Linked DNA regions of Homo sapiens: regions 1, 2 and 3 are each linked to region 4. The links are contacts of gene promoters, found by promoter capture Hi-C in blood cells and fetal thymus (Javierre and others, 2016). All regions are on one chromosome and are shown on one strand. Each heading gives the region's core, a stretch centred on a gene start or on the middle of the fragment in contact. The rest is flanking DNA. Distances are from core to core; before and after follow the strand shown.

The links. The method cuts DNA at HindIII sites, captures the fragments that hold promoters and counts their contacts. A CHiCAGO score of 5 or more calls a contact.
Region 1: a fragment that was not itself captured here is called in contact with the fragment with the promoter of TOM1L1 in region 4 in 1 of 17 cell types (endothelial precursors); the score reaches 6.1 in endothelial precursors.
Region 2: a contact is called between a fragment that was not itself captured here and the fragment with the promoter of TOM1L1 in region 4, in 1 of 17 cell types (endothelial precursors). The highest score is 7.8, in endothelial precursors.
Region 3: a contact is called between a fragment that was not itself captured here and the fragment with the promoter of TOM1L1 in region 4, in 1 of 17 cell types (endothelial precursors). The highest score is 5.6, in endothelial precursors.

The regions. Positions count from the first base shown.
Region 1 is chr17:51,752,506-51,755,205 of GRCh38, reverse strand. The region is part of intron 3 of CA10 (carbonic anhydrase 10); the gene reads left to right. Among named protein-coding and RNA genes, the nearest start is that of LINC02073, 320 kb to the right of the region's middle. The HindIII fragment of the contact is 5,749 bases long and covers 1-2,700 here.
Region 2 is chr17:51,770,202-51,772,901 of GRCh38, reverse strand. All of the region lies in intron 3 of CA10 (carbonic anhydrase 10), which reads left to right. Among named protein-coding and RNA genes, the nearest start is that of LINC02073, 340 kb to the right of the region's middle. The HindIII fragment of the contact is 2,633 bases long and covers 24-2,656 here.
Region 3 is chr17:51,455,349-51,458,048 of GRCh38, reverse strand. No RefSeq gene overlaps it. Among named protein-coding and RNA genes, the nearest start is that of LINC02073, 21 kb to the right of the region's middle. The HindIII fragment of the contact is 1,051 bases long and covers 787-1,837 here.
Region 4 is chr17:54,899,465-54,902,164 of GRCh38, reverse strand. It overlaps TOM1L1 (target of myb1 like 1 membrane trafficking protein), which reads right to left and starts at 1,313. Exons shown (of 16, transcript NM_005486.3): 1 at 1,242-1,313. The coding sequence starts at 1,299. LOC124904033 (a long non-coding RNA gene) reads left to right here and starts at 1,428. Exons shown (of 2, transcript XR_007065854.1): 1 at 1,428-2,700. RefSeq lists enhancers at 999-1,088, 1,109-1,218 and a silencer at 1,299-1,638. The HindIII fragment of the contact is 6,286 bases long and covers 771-2,700 here.

The sequences.
Region 1 (2,700 bases), core at 33-2,532, 3.1 Mb after region 4:
GTCCCATCTATACTCAAGGATAAACCTGCCTTGTTCTTTAACAAGAAAAGTTAAATTATTTCTTTATAATTGTTCTATCATTCAGATGTACATCTTTTCAAACTGGTTCTCCTTCTATGTGACTGACATTTGGAAAACAGTCTTTGTGTAGCTGACTTTTAAAATTATGTGATGTAGGAAATATATAGATAAAATGCATATGTGTTTGTATCATATATAATATACATATGTGTATATATAATATATACAGATATAGATAATGTAGCTATATAATATATGCATGTATATATACACACACGCATATTTGTATTATATATATAACCCTTTATGTGTGGTATCAGAACAACTATTTGGTTAAGAGCTATTTGAACTGATGTAATAAAGAAGGCAAATAGAATTTGAAAATAAGTGTAGTGGTTAATTGATGTGTTAACTTGGCTGGGCCATGGCACTCAAATATTTGGTCAAACATTAATTGGGATATTTCTGTGAGAATGTCTATGGATGAGATAAACATTTAAATCAGTGGAATTTGAGTAAAGCAGATTGCCCTGCATAAGGTTGATGGGCCTCATCCAATCAGTGGAAGGCCTCAAGAGATCAAAAAGACTGACCTCCCTGAATGAAAAGGAATTCTGCAGGGTACCTTCAGAGGTAAACTACAGCATCAGCTCTTGCCTCCAGCCTGCAGGCTTTTGGACTTGCCAATGTCCATAATTAGATGAGACAATTTCTTAAAATCTCTTTATTTTACGTGATATATATATATATATATATATATATATATATATATATATATATATATCACACACACACAGTAGTATGTATGTGTGTGTGCGCATGTGTTGTCTCTTTATTTTACCCGTCTTTATACATATATATGTACACACACACACACACACACACACACACACACACACTATTCTGTTTCTCTAGAGAACCCTGAGTAAACAGTAAGTAATCCTAAACATCCTGAGCTCCAAACTACTGTGAGGCTCCTACACTCTCAACCCACCTCTTGAAGAAAATGCTGTAATATTACATTGTTAAATAACCAGCTGTGGCTGGGAGTGGTGACTCATGCCTGTAATCCCAGCACTTTGGGAGGCCGAGGCAGGTGGATCACCTGAGGTCAGGAGTTCGAGACCAGCCTGGCCAACATGGTGAAACCCCGTCTCTACTAAAAATATAAAAATTAGCTGGGCGTGATGGCAGGTACCTGTAATCCCAGCTACTTGGGAGGCTGTGGAGGGAGAATCACTTGAACCCGGGAGGTGGAGGTTGCAGTGAGCCAAGATCACGCCACTGCACTCCAGCCTGGGCGACAGAGTGAGACTCCGTATCAAAAAACAGAAACAAAAACTGCACAACCTAATAATTTCCAGTGGTTAAAAGCACAGGCTTTAGAGCCAAAGATAGCTGAGGTCAAGTTCTGGCCCCCGACTGATGGCAGTTTGCTTCTATGGAAAGTGCCATAGAAACCAGGTAAGACAGGTATGCCCTGTGGGAGGCCTTCCCTCCACATATGGGTTTAGCCTAATATCTTCCCACTGAGAATAAGCAAATGGTGCTGGGTTTGGTGAGGGAGAAATTGTGATGATTAACAGAGAAAATTCAGGTTCAGAATTTACCGCCACCCCCTGTGGCACCCAGTAAAGTTCTAACCAAGATGCCATCTTTATGAACAGGATTGTGGCTGAATTTCAAAGAATGAAAATTTTTCCTACCTTAAAAATGCATTGACCAAATTTATTTCCCTCTAAACATGATAGTGTCACCAGAATGAAAAAAGATGACCCCATTTATTAGAGGCCCCAAATCACTGACTGCTGCAAAGCACTGTGTTTGCTATGCAAAGACATCTAATTTTGCAAAATAAATACACCAGGCATACAATTTTTGCTTTGCAAAAGAACATAGTGCTTCTAGATGGTCTCAAGTTATCAAGATAATATTGATTGACATACAACCTGGACAGGCACATCTGTGGAGCACCTATTACCTGCTTCCCTCAATATACGTAGCTCCAACCAGTCTCAAACCAGTATGAATTCCGCAGGTGAGGAAATTGAGGGACTTCCTTGACCTTCAGGTTTCTCGAAGCCTCCTCCTGGGATGAACTTCAGCAGGCTAGCATCCAATTATAGTCCTCTCTTTTCCTGAAAAAGATCCCACTTTTTCTGGAACTGCCTAAGATCTGCAAATAGAGACTGGAGAAGAAATGAAAATCCCCAACATATTTTTTATTTACTTGTTTTTTATTTTATTTATTTATTTATTTATTTTTGAGATGCAGTCTCACTCTGTCACCCAGGCTGCAGTGCAGTGGCGCGATCTCAGCCACTGCAACCTCTGCCTCCTGGGTTCAAGTGATTCTCCTGCCTCAGCCTTCCGAGTAGCTGCAGGTGCCTGCTACCACACCCCGCTAATTGTATTTTTAGTAGAGACGGGGTTTCGCCATGTTGGCCAGGCTGGTCTCAAGCCCCTGACCTCAGGTGATCCGCCTGCCTCGACCTCCCAAAATGTTAGGATTACAGGCATGAGCCAAAGTACCTGGCCCCCCAAAGTATTTTTTTTTAATCTGAAATGAGCAAGGACACTTGCATTTGCTTACATCGAGATCATTAGTCTTGGAATCAGAAGACCTGGGTTTGCCACCTGCCACTGTGTGATTCTGGATAAGTTACTGAACCTTCACCA
Region 2 (2,700 bases), core at 91-2,590, 3.1 Mb after region 4:
TCCCGAGGTGCTCCCCAGAAGCTTCTGTTGGTGGTAGAGAGGTAGAGAAAGCATGGGTTTTAGAGTAAAAGTCTGTTAAAATTCCATTTCATTTTGTGACTTCAACAAGGTACTTGAACTTGAGTCTCAATTTCCACATTTGTAAAATGAGGCTAATACCATGTATCTCACATGACAGTTATGACAATTAAGTTACATAACTGTGTTAGCTGGCCTAGTTCAAAAAAAAAAAAATGCTTCTCTCTTTTCCCTCTCCTTGTCTTCTCTGTTCCCATGGCAATTGTAGGCCTTCCCTCATTTTAACCTGGTGGCTGTGGTGGCTGGCCTGTCTCTGTGTCTGTCTTTCCATCATTCCCATTTGGAAATTCCTCCAGGATTTAGTCAATATTTTAGTTCTCTTCATGGCCTTAATTACTGAAACATGAAATGTTAGGGATATATATATATCAAAAACAGCCAAGTTTAGGAAATCTTATTTTATATCACTTTTTTTTGCTTCGTATCATTCAGCACTTTCATTGTAAAATAATAAGCAAGTGCATATACTCATTTGCATTTATTTGCATATATCTTTATAATTGTTACTTGTGTGTGCATCATAGTATCAGCAGTAATGGTAATACTAGTAATTGTTAATAGTAACTATGAGTACCTAATGTTTGTTAAGTAATTATTATGTGTTATGTACTCTTTCAACTATCTTTACATGTATTACCTTATTTAATCTTCACAACAAAACAGTAGCCACTATTGTTCTCCCCATATACAGATGAGGAAAGTGAGGCACAGAGAGGTTCAGCTATGTATGAGAATGAAATAGAGGAAAGTAAGTAGGAGGAGACATAGGATTCCAGCAGCAATGCAGAGCACTCCACGAGGCATCACAGGGATGGTAATTGAACCCTGATTCTGCAGAGCACGTGGCCACAGATGAGGCACATACACTCTGTGAGAGGCTTTGTCCTCACCTGTGAGATGGGATGCCTGCTCCTACTTCAGAGATTCCTGTGTGGGAACCATAGGAGAATGAGTGTGTGAACACTCTCTGTAAAATGGTAAAGAGCCATATTGATGTTAGCCAGCTTGGTATTGGTCAAGCCTCGCCTCACTGGTCTCCTCCCCTCCTGCCCCATTCTGCCACTCAGAACCTAGGAAACCATTGTTCCAAGTACAAGTTCAATCAGTGCTTGCTAAGTCAACAGGAAAGAGTCAGGGCTGGCTAACATTCACTTTCTCAGATTTAGGAAGAAGTGGCAAGGCTGAGACATAGTGGGACAGCCACCCATGCCAAAAGGGGGAAAGGCAGAACTTGAGATTTCCAAGTGTATGACTACTGAGTTTCATGGAAAATCGGAGTCTCCAGACCCAACATAGCCATTACAGAGAGTAGGCAATGCTGGGTGTGGCATGGGAAAACTCCATTGTCTTAATTCTGGGAGGTGATATAATAGGGAGAAGTCTTAGCACTGGGCAAGCCTGGCTTGGTGACCTGATTTTATCACCATCTTGCTCTGTGATTTTGGACAGGTCAATCATCCTCCATTATAAGGAGCACCTTTTCACATCTATAAAACAAGTGTAACATTAGTGATATAGTTTGGATATTTGTCCCAGTCCAAATCTCACGTTGAAATATAATCTCCAGTATTGGAGATGGAGCCTAGTGGGAGGTGTTTGGATCATAGGGGTGGATCCCTCATGAATGGCTTGGTGAAGAGTGAGCTCTCACTCTGGGTTCACAGGAGATCTGGTCTTTTTTTTTTTTTTTTTTTTTTTTTTGAGACGGAGTCTTACTCTGTCGCCAGACTGGAGAGCAGTGGTACGATCTCAGCTCACTGCAACCTCCGCTTCCTGGGTTCAAGCGATTCTCCTGCCTCAGCCTCCTGAGTAGCTGGGACTACAGACATGCACCACCACGCCAGGCTAATTTTTGTATTTTTAGTAGAGATGGGGTTTCACCATGTTGGCCAGGATGGTCTCGATCTCTTGACCTCGTGATCTGCCTGCCTCAGCCTCCCAAAGTGCTGTGAATACAGGCGTGAGCCACTGCGCCCGGCTGAGATCTGGTCTTTGTAAAAGTGTGTGGCACCTCCCCCACCACTATCTCTCTCTTGCTCCCACTTGGCCATGTGAGATGCCTGCTCCCTCTTTGCCCTCCACCATGAATAAAGGCCCCCTGAGGCCTCCCCAGAATCCAAGCTGATGACAGTGCTACACTTCCTCTGCAAGCTGCAGAACCATGAGCCAACTAAACCTCTTTTCTTTATAAATTACCCAGCCTCAGGTATTTGTGTATAGCAATGCAAGAACAGCCTAATACAATCAGTACCAGCTCACAGGATTACTGTGATGACTCAGTGAGATACTGTGCTCAGCACAGGGTCTTGCACATAGGAAACAGAGGAAACAGTTGAGCAAATTTGCACAATACAGTTTAGCAAATATTAGTATTAATGGTGGTATTATTTCGTGCCCCTCCAAGCCTAGGGTCTCGGGGGAGGGTTTGTGTCTCCTTAGTTTTCATTGTTTAGGGGTTCTTTGTTTCTCCATAGCATATGGAGAAAACATAGGATATTATAGCCATATTTGGTAACTTGCTGGTCACCACAGATAACTATGATTTAGAGAATAACGTAGAAGTCATGCCTGGAAAGCTTTTTATTTCTGGGCGGGGCGGGGAGGGTGTCAGGAATGCATTTT
Region 3 (2,700 bases), core at 63-2,562, 3.4 Mb after region 4:
TTACAGGTGCCTGCCACCATGCCTGGCTAATTTGTGCATTTTTATAGAGACAAGATTTCACCGTGTCGGCCAGGCTGGTCTTGAACTTCTGACCTCAGGTGATCTGCCCGCCTCAGCCTCCCAAAGTGCTGGGACTACAGGCATGAGCCACTGTACCCGACCTTCATGTCTTTTTATAAGGGAACTCTTTGGCACCTTCCATCCTGTGAGGACACCTCAAGAAGGCACTGTCTATAAGGAATGGGCCCTCACCAGACACCAAATCTGCTGGCAACTTGATCTTGGAGTTCCTAGCCTCCAGAACTGTGAGAAATAAGTGTTGTTTATAAACCACCAAAAGTCTAAAGTATTTTGTTAAAGCAGCCTGAAGCAATATAAACATTCCTTGCCATTTTTAACCATCCTAATGTTGAATGTCTTACCCCTGAATAATTTCATTAATAGTAAATTTAATTTTTAAAAGTCTGCAAATTGGTGAGGACCACTTGTATAAAATTATATATTTGGCCACTAATTGCATCTCAAATTGATACAGCTATTGCATTCAAATAAAAGAGTTCTCAACTCCCTGACTTTTAAGGAACCTCAATTAAACCTGTTTATAATAAGCTGGTTCCCTTGAGCAGCCTCAGGGATGGAACAGAGAGTGAAGTTGTGTGGTTAATGCAAAGGTGTCTCTCTCAATCAAAAACAGACACTAAGAACCCTATGTTAAAATGCACAAAGCAAATCTGGTTCCTTCTGAGACTACAGTCTTGTTGACCACGTCAGAGAAAGAGTTAAGCTTCTTGTTCCCCCTTTGAACTTCATGCAAATATAAATGGTAAGTGCAGAAAATGTAGCAGCTTTGGATTTGTGTCATAAATCACAAGCATGAGCAGCAGCCTTTCTTCTGGCAATTTTAAAGTTTATTATGTTCTGACTCATGTAGTCAAGGATGACATCAGCACAAATTCAGTTATGATATATAAGGTGATGACAACCCTGACTGATGCCCACTTTTAGCTTCCCATTTCTGAAAGTTGAAATGTGCCCTTTCTCCCTCCAAATGCAGTAAATTCACATTGACTTAGAAGACACCTTTCCAAATAAGATATCAAACTTTATGTAAGGGCATTTCTCTTGAAGGCAGTGGGTACTATCACTGGCCCAGTTGGCTGCTCCGCTCCTGAAGAATTCTTCAGAGTGTGACTAAGGCTAGGAGCCCCTTCCCAGTAGTTGTGGATCTTACTATAGGGTAGTTTAAAACTAGACAGATGGCCGGGCACAGTGGCTGACACCTGTAATCCCAGCACTTTAGGAGGCTGAAAGAATCACTGGAGGCCAGGAGTTGAAGAATGGCCTGGGCAACATGGCAAAACCCTGTCTCTACAAAAAATTTTAAAACTTAGCCAGGTGTGGTGGTGTGCACTGTAGTCCCAGCTGCTTGGGAGGCTGAAGTGGAGGATCACCCGAGCCCAGGAGGTTCAGGCAGCAGTGAGCTATGATTGTGCCACTGCACTCCAGCCTGGGCAACAGACCAAGACCCTGTCTCTCAAATTAAAATAAAGGTAAATAAATAAATGAAAGTAGATAGAAACCAATCTGGCTGCCATTCGCTTGAGAGATTTTGTCATCTTCATAAACCCAAAGGGTCTGAAAGGAAAGTTAACAGCTACCAGGCCTCTCTCAGAAGTGCCCAGGATCAAGACTGTAGTCGTTTACCTTCAAGATGGCCACCATCAACTCTTTTCTCCCTACAGACATGTGTTCCCCTCCTATCAAGAGGTGGAGCCTGTTTCTGGGTGCAGGAATAAATAGAAAATATTTCCCGAGGCATTAGCTCATAGGCAAAGCTTTTCTTGAGTCCTCCAGGCTATTATGAGCTTTCTCCACCGGGATATTTTACCTTCCTCCACCGCAGCACTTACCTCATTATGTGTAACTCTTCTATACCCACAAGACCGCAAGCCCCTTGACAGTTCCAAGCAGAAAATCTGGCAGGTGATGGGCAGCATAGCACAGTGATTAACTCCAAGGGTTTGGAAGATATCCTACACCACATTGGAATCCTGACTCTCCCACTAAGTTTTAGAAGTATGACTTTAGCCAAGTTATTTGACTTCTCTGATTCTTAGTTTCTCCATCTGCAAAAGGGGGTAAGAATATCTCATAATGTTGTGTGGTGTGAGCATTAGATGAGATAATGTGTGCAAATGACTCAGCACAGGGCCTGGCCACAGCCTTCACTAGGTGGTAGCTATTATTATTAGGTACTCAATGCATGTTATGGAACAAATGAAAACACTTCTACCCTCTCTCTGGCCCTGTGAGATGGCTTCTTGAATTTCTCTTCTGTCATCCCCTTTAACTGATTGCTGTTCACTTCAGCTACACAGTATTATTACCTGGGAAGCCTTAAAAAGTCAGATACCAAAAATAAATAATAATTTTTAAAGCATACACACACACACACACACACACACACACACACACCCCATTCTGATAGCCAGATTGCCTTTCAGGCCAATGAAATCAGAATATCTGGAGGTGAGACCCAGGCATCAGGAGCTTTTATAACCTCTAAGTGACCCCAACATGCAGCCAAGGTTGAGCACCATTCCCTTAAATGGAGGCATTTCTCAAGGCCCAGCCTTTGGACCTCTGCTCTTCCTCATCTGTGTGGCCTCCCTGTGGGATCACATCCCTCTCAGGGCCTCA
Region 4 (2,700 bases), core at 64-2,563:
GTTTTGCATTTTCTTGCATTGCAAAGGTGCCACACAAAACTGTGCCCGTCTTCTCTACAAGAAAGTGAGTTCCCTCAGGTTTGAGACCACGTCTCACCTTGGCCTCACCAGTGCCTGATCCAGGTCCAGGCACATAGCTGACAGTTAGTCCATGTTTACAGAATTAAAAAATTAAGCAGAAGAACTGCTGAAGTTTCGTTTGCCTATGAAGACACAGTCTGAATCCATTTCTGCTTGGGGTTCATTCTAATATCCAAAAAAGCACAGCCATTAAGGGAAAGCATCTCCTCAATGGTAGCTACTCTGACCATCTTATAAGGATGTGTAAACTAAGGTTCTGTTTAAGTGGTGTGTTCGGTGTCACAGCAGTTAGTAGAGCTGTGATCTAAATTTTCCAAATCTGGGCCTCTTTACTACAACTACTAGGTTCTCACGATTTCATCACCCCACTAAGTTCCTGACATCATCACACTTTGCCTGGCATTAATATGCACTCGTGCCACACCCAATTCCCAAGGGAGGAATCAGGGAAAAGAAGGAGCAGTGAGCTGGTGCTGGTAGGAGTCCAATCACTGGCTTCTACATACATCATGCAAGGTACATCCGGAGGAGAGAGAAATCATTTAGGTGGATGCTGGTGTAGTCCCTAGTGGCCTGCGAGAGACCTCCGTGGCCCCAGATGGCTCCTATGTTCCCCTCCTCTTCACTCCAATGCCAAGCATTTTCATTCTCTTTGTTTACCCAGAAAAGTAATCCAGGTTGTATAAGCTTGGCACTAGAGAAAACTGGTTTGGGGAGACCTGCCCCTCACAGTAAGGCCACATCACTTAGTCTCCCAGAGCCTCCTCTTCTGATCTGTAAAACGGGCATAACAATACCGTGCCCTGGAGAATGTGCCTTTAGGAATAACTTCCCCTACCGAGAAGTTTCTGGTGTCTCCTCGTGGAGGCCCAAACACTCCATGCCTGACTCCCGCGGTTCACCTGTTTGGTTCCACTCCCCAGGCGGCATCGAAAGGAAGGTACATTTTTGAGGACTGAGGTTCTACAGTGAGTTGGCCAAGAAGGAAACGACGAAAGGGGGCCGGGTGGAATGCGGGTGCCTTGGGAAAGTTGCGGGGGGAGGGGAATAATTTTTTCAAGTTGGACTAACTCCGTCCTCTGCAGGCCGAGAATGGATCAAGCAGGAAAGGATCCCACGGTCCCCTGCCTGCCTGGGCGTCTCTCCCCGCGCCTCCTTACCTATGAGGTGGCCCACGGAGGTCGCGTAGGGATCCCGGTGACTCTTGCCAAACGCCATGGTAGCGCCAGAGGGCCGGGCCCAGGAAATCCGCCTCCACCGCTCTCCGGCTCCCGACTCCACCCGCTCGGTACCCTTGGCTCCTCCTCTTCGCCCGAGCGCTTCCCGGGCTCTGGCAGAGGCGGTGCGTTCTGCGCTGCCGCTGCGGGGCGCGGGCACCGAGCGTGAGGAGCTGGGCGCGGGGCAGGGACGCGAGGGCGGGGCTTCGGGACGCCCAGCGCACCTGCAGCGCGCCCTGCGGGACCCGCGAGGAGGCTGCGCTGCCGGCTGCAGGTGGTACAGGCGGGTAGTGGCGGGTGTATGGAGCCTGCGAGAGTGGCGCGGCCGCCCGCTCGGATCCCAGGTGGGCTTTTCGCCCCGTGCAGGAGGAGCAGGCAGCCCAGAATCTCCAGCCTGGGAATTAGAGACCCAGGCTTTGATCCTGCCGCTTGCTGGGCACCTTGTCATTCTTCTCTGCGCCTCTTTGGCTGCCCTGGGTAGACCAAAGATAATAGGGGGTTAATAACACAAACCTCAGAATTATGAGAATTAAGGGAAGGACGTAACCGATTATGTCGGTGTCTGGTACCCACAAAATAAATAGTTAGCCACTGAATATACTGAATAACTAGAAATATTTACCCTCGACCTGCCTTTGTCCTAGAGATCCGGGAGGGGAGGTGTGCGCCCTGCCCTTTAAAGTTGTGGTCATGTCTAGGAGGAAGGATTGGCTTCGAATTTAGGGCTTCCCAGGAGCAGGCCCTCTTTGTCTCTCTACTATTTCCTCGAGGGACCACAGGGCGCCGCCTCGCAAGCTCTTGTTTTCTAACCCCACCTTCTGGGAGCCGTGTTTTCCAGCCTGATTCTAAAAACGGGAGAGGGGCTTTCCGTTTCTTCTGGCAAGGAGTATGCTTGGCTTTAGGCCTGCTTTGTAATGTAGGTTGGAATCTGAGAAGCCCAACACCTTTCCAGCTGCCCCTTCAGAACCAGAATTTATTTCCTATTCCTTTGCATTCAATTAACATCTGATTGGCGATGTTAACAATCTCCAGCCAGCAGGAGCCTGCCAGAGAGTGAGGTGTCCCCAGGCGATGTCAGATAGCCATAGATGAGCTCCTGGTGCTTGTAGATCCTGTTTCCTGTAGTCTAACTGCCACCCATTTCAAGTCTGTTTTTTAGCCCTGGAGATGGTGACTAGGGAGACGAAGGGGACCTGTTTTGACTTATGTCCGTGGTCTTGTGAATTTTAATATAGAGGTCAAAACCAATTGCCATGCACTCCAGGAGGCTAACATTTAATTATCTGTAACTCAATTATTTATAATTTTTCTTGACCAAAGTGAGCCAAAACCTGGGATTCTAAAATCTAGAATGAAATATTCTTGTTGTGATGATATGTCTCATAATGGGATTTGTCCCACG